Linked DNA regions of Homo sapiens: region 1 is linked to region 2. The links are contacts of gene promoters, found by promoter capture Hi-C in human tissues and cell types (Jung and others, 2019). All regions are on one chromosome and are shown on one strand. The core of a region is centred on a gene start or on the middle of the fragment in contact, and the rest is flanking DNA. Distances in the headings are between cores, read along the strand shown. Region 1 overlaps CUL4A (cullin 4A). Region 2 holds the start of F10 (coagulation factor X).

Region 1 (2,720 bases), core at 33-2,532, 120 kb after region 2:
TCCTGTGCAGGAGAACGGCCCTTTGGTGCTGACATAGGACCTCCCTGAAGACTAGGGGCTCTCGGCCCAGGGCACCACCCCACCAAGGGGACATTTGTTGATGTCTGGAGACATTTGTGGCTGTCTGAACAGAGAGGGTGCGGCTTGCTTTGCTGGGCAGCACCAGGGGTGCTGCTGAATGCACAAGGCAGCCCTCACCACAAAGAATCACCTGCCCAGAGGGCCAGAGTTGCCCAGCCCAAGAAACCTGCTGAAGACCCTCTAATGAGAAGCCATTCTCCAGATGCCCCTCACAGAAACAGGAGAACTGAGGCAGACATCAGGGCCCCTTCACAGATAGCTCGTGTTTTCAGGATGTGCCAGTTGCCTAGCATGAATTTTCCAGCTTAAATGGTGAACATTTAGCAAAAGTCTGTGTTTTTGCTTGCTGGTGACTATTCTTAAATCCCATAATGAAAAGATAAACAAAATTTCCAGAGAATTACACTAAGAGGAAAAAAAGAAAAGCCAATCACAGATACTTAACGTGTTATTGCATAACATTTTGGAAATGACAAAATTTAGAAATGGAGGATAGATGAAAAGTTACCAGGGTGTAGGGATGGGGCAGGGTGTGTGGTTATAAAAGGCCCCAGGAGGTAGCCTTCTGCGGGAACAGTCGGGGTTTCGGCCGAGGTCTAGATGTGCACACCCAGATGAGTTACGAGTAAACTGGGCCATGTGAAAAAGACGGGTGCGCTGCCATGTCAGTACCCCAGCTGAGACACTGTTGTGTAGTTTCGCAAACCGTTGCCATTGGAGGAAACTGTGGAAATAAAGACACTGGGATTGCTTTGCTATTTTTACTATTATGCAAATCTGTCATTATCTGAATAAAGATTTCCGTTAAATAAAAAAGATAAAGCTTACATGCTGCTTTATGGAATAATCAGACCTGAAGTCATGTATCAGTCCAGCTGTGGAAAGCCAGCACTCACAGCACCCCTCCCCACAAGGTCTCGTACAATGATAGAATTGGAACTTATAACTGAGTCACACTAAATTGGCCATAAAGCTACTGAAGATTTAGGTTTTTTGCCAGTGAGACAGTCTTCAGGGGATGGGAATGTGTGCTAAAAACTAGGAAAAGTTCACCTTTGCAGTTTCCAGTCTGGGTAATAAAAATCAGTGAGTGACCATCACCCCTGAGTGTCAGCAATAAGTAGTTATACTGTAACAAAATAGTAGTTTATATTCAACTCCACATGCCGTTATCAAAATAAAGCTGGGCCTTGTAGTGTATGTGCATTATTTCAAAATGCAGTTAGCACCAAAGGGTGTAGAGTAAGAGGTAAGTCCCTCCCACACCTGCTAGCCACACACCGCCCCTCTCTGGGAGAGTCTGTGCCCTTTCTGTTGGCATCTTTTTTTTTTTTTTTTTTTTTGAGGTGGAGTCTCACTCTGTCATCCAGGCTGGAGTGTAGTGGCGTGATCTCAGCTCACTGCAACCTCTGCCTCCTGGGTTCAAGCAGTTCCCTGCCTCAGCCTCCTGAGTAGCTGGGATTACAGGCTCCCGCCACCACACCTGGCCAATTTTTGTATTTTTAGTAGAGATGGGGTTTCACCATATTGTCCAAGCTGGTCTTGGAACTCCAGACCTTGTGATCCACCCGCCTTAGCCTCCCAAAGTGCTGGGATTACAAGCGTGAGCCACTGCGCCCAGCCTTCTCTTGGCATCTTTCCACCAGCCAGCTACCTCGCGTGTGTGTGTGATGTGTGAGTGCACATGTGCATTCTATTGAGACGAATTTTTTAAATCCAATCATTGTATTCAGTTCCTCTTCGGCATATATAGTTTATATCATCAAATGTTAACTGTTTATTAGTGCCCTACACAGACTTTTAGGAATGTTTAATATAACAGTTTTAAATTAAAAATACAAACTAGGCTAGGCACAGTGGCTCACGCTTGTAATCCCACCACTTTGGGAGGCCAAGGCAGGCAGATCATGAAGTCAAGAGATCAAGACCATCCTGGCCAACATGGTGAAACCCCGTCTCTAGCTGGGCGTGGTGGTGTGCACCTGTAGTCCCAGCTACATGGGAGGCGGAGGTTGCAGTGAGCCGAGATCACGCCACTGCACTCCAGCCTGGTGACAAAGCGAGAGTCCATCTCAAAACAAAAAAAAAAAAGTACAAACTAAAAAAGTGAGCTTTTCATGGTTAGAAGTGATGGAGAAGGAAAACTAGCCAAGAAGTCCCAAGAGGTATATTGAATTAATAGGAATTAACTTGTCTTGGAGGAACTTACACATAAACATTCTTTAAAAAGCAACGGACATTTTCCAGTCGTTTGTAAGTTCTCTCAGAAACAGAATCGTAAGACCAATGCATTAATTGTGTATTTAATTGTATATTCACACCAAGCACAGGGGCTCATGCCTGTAAACCCAGCACTTTGGGAAATCACAGTGGGAGGATTGCTTGAGGCCAGGAGTTCGAGACCAGCCTGGGCAACATGACCCCGTCTCTACAAAACTTTAAAAAGATGGGCCAGATGTGGTGGCCTGAGCCTGTAGCACCAGCTACTCAGGAGGCTGAGGTGGGAGGATTGCTTGAGCTTGGGAGGTTGAGGCTGCAGTGAACCGTGATTGCACCACCGCACTCCAGCCTCGGCCGCAGAGTGAGGGCCTGCCTCAAAAAAAAGTGTATTCACTTAATTTTTGAAATGTGAATTCAAT
Region 2 (2,700 bases), core at 134-2,633:
CTCCAGCTTTCTGTGAGTGGCGAGATAGAATACGGGGAGGCCACTGGCCATGGGCCTGGGACAGGGTGGGATGAGGCGGCAGGCTTGGGCCACCAAAGCCAGCATCGCCACCCAGCATTGATGACAAAGACTGCGTGTCTGCCATGAGCATCCTGCTGTTGGTGCACACACCGCATTGGTCTCTCCATACAAACATGCCTAGAGGCGATGTCAGAGGGTGGAGACCAGGAGAGGCAGGAGTCAGACATCTGGTGCCACCAGGAAGGCCCTTCTCAGAGGACCAGGCTGTGCGTGGTGCCCGCCGTGGGAGGCCAGCCTGGCGTTGGCATCCAGCATCATCAGTTTGTGCAGTCGGGTGGGGCTCAGTGAGTGCCTCCTGTGTGCCAGGCACAATGACGCACAATGTGTGCACACCAGGCTCATGTGCAGGTGGCTGCGAGACAGGGCGACCCATCAAGGCAGATGCACCATGAGGCAGTGGCCAGTGCTGTGGGTGTTAGGGGCATTGCTCCCCGGCCACTACGGCATAGCAGGCAGTGATCGCCACACTGGCCAAGCTTTAGACCATTTATTCCAGAGACCCCAGAGGCAAAAAGCCCGGCTGCACCTCCCAGTGACTCCCACAGCCATTGAGCAGAGACACTCAGGACCTTGTGATGGGAGGTTTCTGCACTGGAGAACGAGCCCAGAAGCCCTCTCAGCCTCGGAACAGTGTGGCCAGTGGTGGGCAGGTCAGGAGGGGCTTCAGACACAGCCTGTCCCTCCAGATGGTCACGGGAAGGTCACTCCCCACAGAAGTACGTTTTGGGGCCATGCGGGCACAGAAGGTTTGGGGGTGGGTGGGGCAGGTGCCAGCCTGGCCTGTGGGAGGCCATGGTGCAGATGCCAAGCCCCCCCCGTGACATGAGACCACCTGATACCACCCAGAGAGTGGCTGTGAGCGGAAGGGCCCGCCCAGAAACAAGCAGGGCCTTGGGGCAGAAGTCCTGGGCTCAGATCCCACGCTCACTGCCAGCGGCCTCGGCTCAGGCTTCTGCGCTCTCTAAACTTAGTTTTCTCTTCTGGAAAAATGATGGGGAAAATGATATTTGTATGTGAGGACTGAGAGTTAAATGTAAACATCTGGAAACTACAAAATGAGCACGAAATGATGTTTTTATTCTTAGAACAGAAAGTCCCCACACCCGCGGCCCTGGTGACTGATGAGGATGAGGTTCTGCGGGGCCTCTCTGGCCGCCCAGCTCTGCCTGGGGAAGGTGGGGCCAGAGTGGATGTGTTCCCAGCGTGGTCACTCCCCTGCCTCGCCAGCAGGTCTCGGCTCCAATCAGGAGGCCTAAGCCAAGTGATAAGCAGCCAGACAACAGCCATCCCAGCTGGGGCGTGGACTTTGCTCCAGCAGCCTGTCCCAGTGAGGACAGGGACACAGTACTCGGCCACACCATGGGGCGCCCACTGCACCTCGTCCTGCTCAGTGCCTCCCTGGCTGGCCTCCTGCTGCTCGGGGAAAGTCGTAAGTGCCCCTCGCCCTTCAGACCCAAAAGCAGCGCCAGGGAGCAGGGAGGGGCGGCAGTTGGGGAAACCCTCTCATCTCTGCAGCCTGGACGGTGGGTGCCTTGAGTGCTGCCAGAGGCTGGGCTCGGATGGCTGGGCTTGGCCTTTCCAGCCAACGGCATCCTCAAGGCCAGCTGTGGCTCCCTGGGGCTGAGAGTCAGACGGGCGGATCAGAGGTCACAGAGACAAAAACACAAGGACAGAGTCAGAGAGAGAAAGGGAGAGGGAAGGAGAAACGGAGACACAGTGAGATGGGAGGCCAAGAGGCAGAGACAGAGGTAGAAAGACGGAGACAGAGAGAGAGGGAGGGGTTGGGGCAGGCAGAGACAGGACAGTTAGCCATCTGCCACCACAGGGAGGCACAGGACGAGGGGCACAGCAGAGGAGCTCCCAGGGAGGAGGAGGCTGAGCCGAGCCAGTGCCACCACTCTCGGACTGGCTCCGTCGGGGAAGGAGCTGCCTAATGCACAGCTGGACAGGTGGGGGCAGCAGGGCTGTCCAGGACCCCCGGGTCTGTCCAAAAGCAGAGGCCCAGACAGGACAGAAGCCAGGCAAGCCTGGGGACAGCGGAGGAAGAGGAGGCCCCTCTGGTGGGGACACGAGAGACAGGGACCCTAGACTTGTTTGCATCCTGGACAAAGTGGACAGGCAGGGGCACCAAGGGGACCCAGGCCTGGGAAGGGAATGTGTGAGGGAGAGACGGAGCAGGGGGAGACCCTCGTGGGGTGGAAAGGGGAGACCCCTGGGAAGGCTGAGTGGATCCTCAGTGCATCACTGACCTAAACGGCCCCTCCGCCTGGTGACTTGGAGCTCCAGTCACATCACACGGGGGTCTTCTCCATCCCACCCTCAACCCCCTGCCCTCCCCAGCCTCTGTCCCCTGAGCCACATCTTCCTGTCTCCCACGCGGAACGGGACTCCCGTCTTCATGGGGTACTGTGTGGCTCCAACTCGCCCAGCCTTCTTCCTCCCCCTCAGGCCACACTGCCCCCTGCAGGAGCCCACTGTGATGCTTGTGGTGGGATGAGATCAGCGTGGGTGGAACAAGGCCCTGGAAGGACCCATGCCATCATCATCGACAGCAAAGCTACTCTGCAAACAGACAGATGCTTCCGCGAATTGGTAGAAAATTCTGCAGCCGGAATGCTC

What was found. Contacts are between HindIII fragments. The study calls those that stand out against the background at their distance.
Region 1: a contact is called between a fragment that was not itself captured here and the fragment with the promoter of F10 in region 2, in 2 of the 25 tissues and cell types used here (dorsolateral prefrontal cortex and spleen).

The regions. Positions count from the first base shown.
Region 1 is chr13:113,240,109-113,242,828 of GRCh38, forward strand. The region is part of intron 10 of CUL4A (cullin 4A); the gene reads left to right. Among named protein-coding and RNA genes, the nearest start is that of MIR8075, 21 kb to the right of the region's middle. The HindIII fragment of the contact is 5,276 bases long and covers 1-2,720 here.
Region 2 is chr13:113,121,416-113,124,115 of GRCh38, forward strand. F10 (coagulation factor X) reads left to right here and starts at 1,384. Exons shown (of 8, transcript NM_000504.4): 1 at 1,384-1,510. The coding sequence starts at 1,441. The HindIII fragment of the contact is 14,274 bases long and covers 1-2,700 here.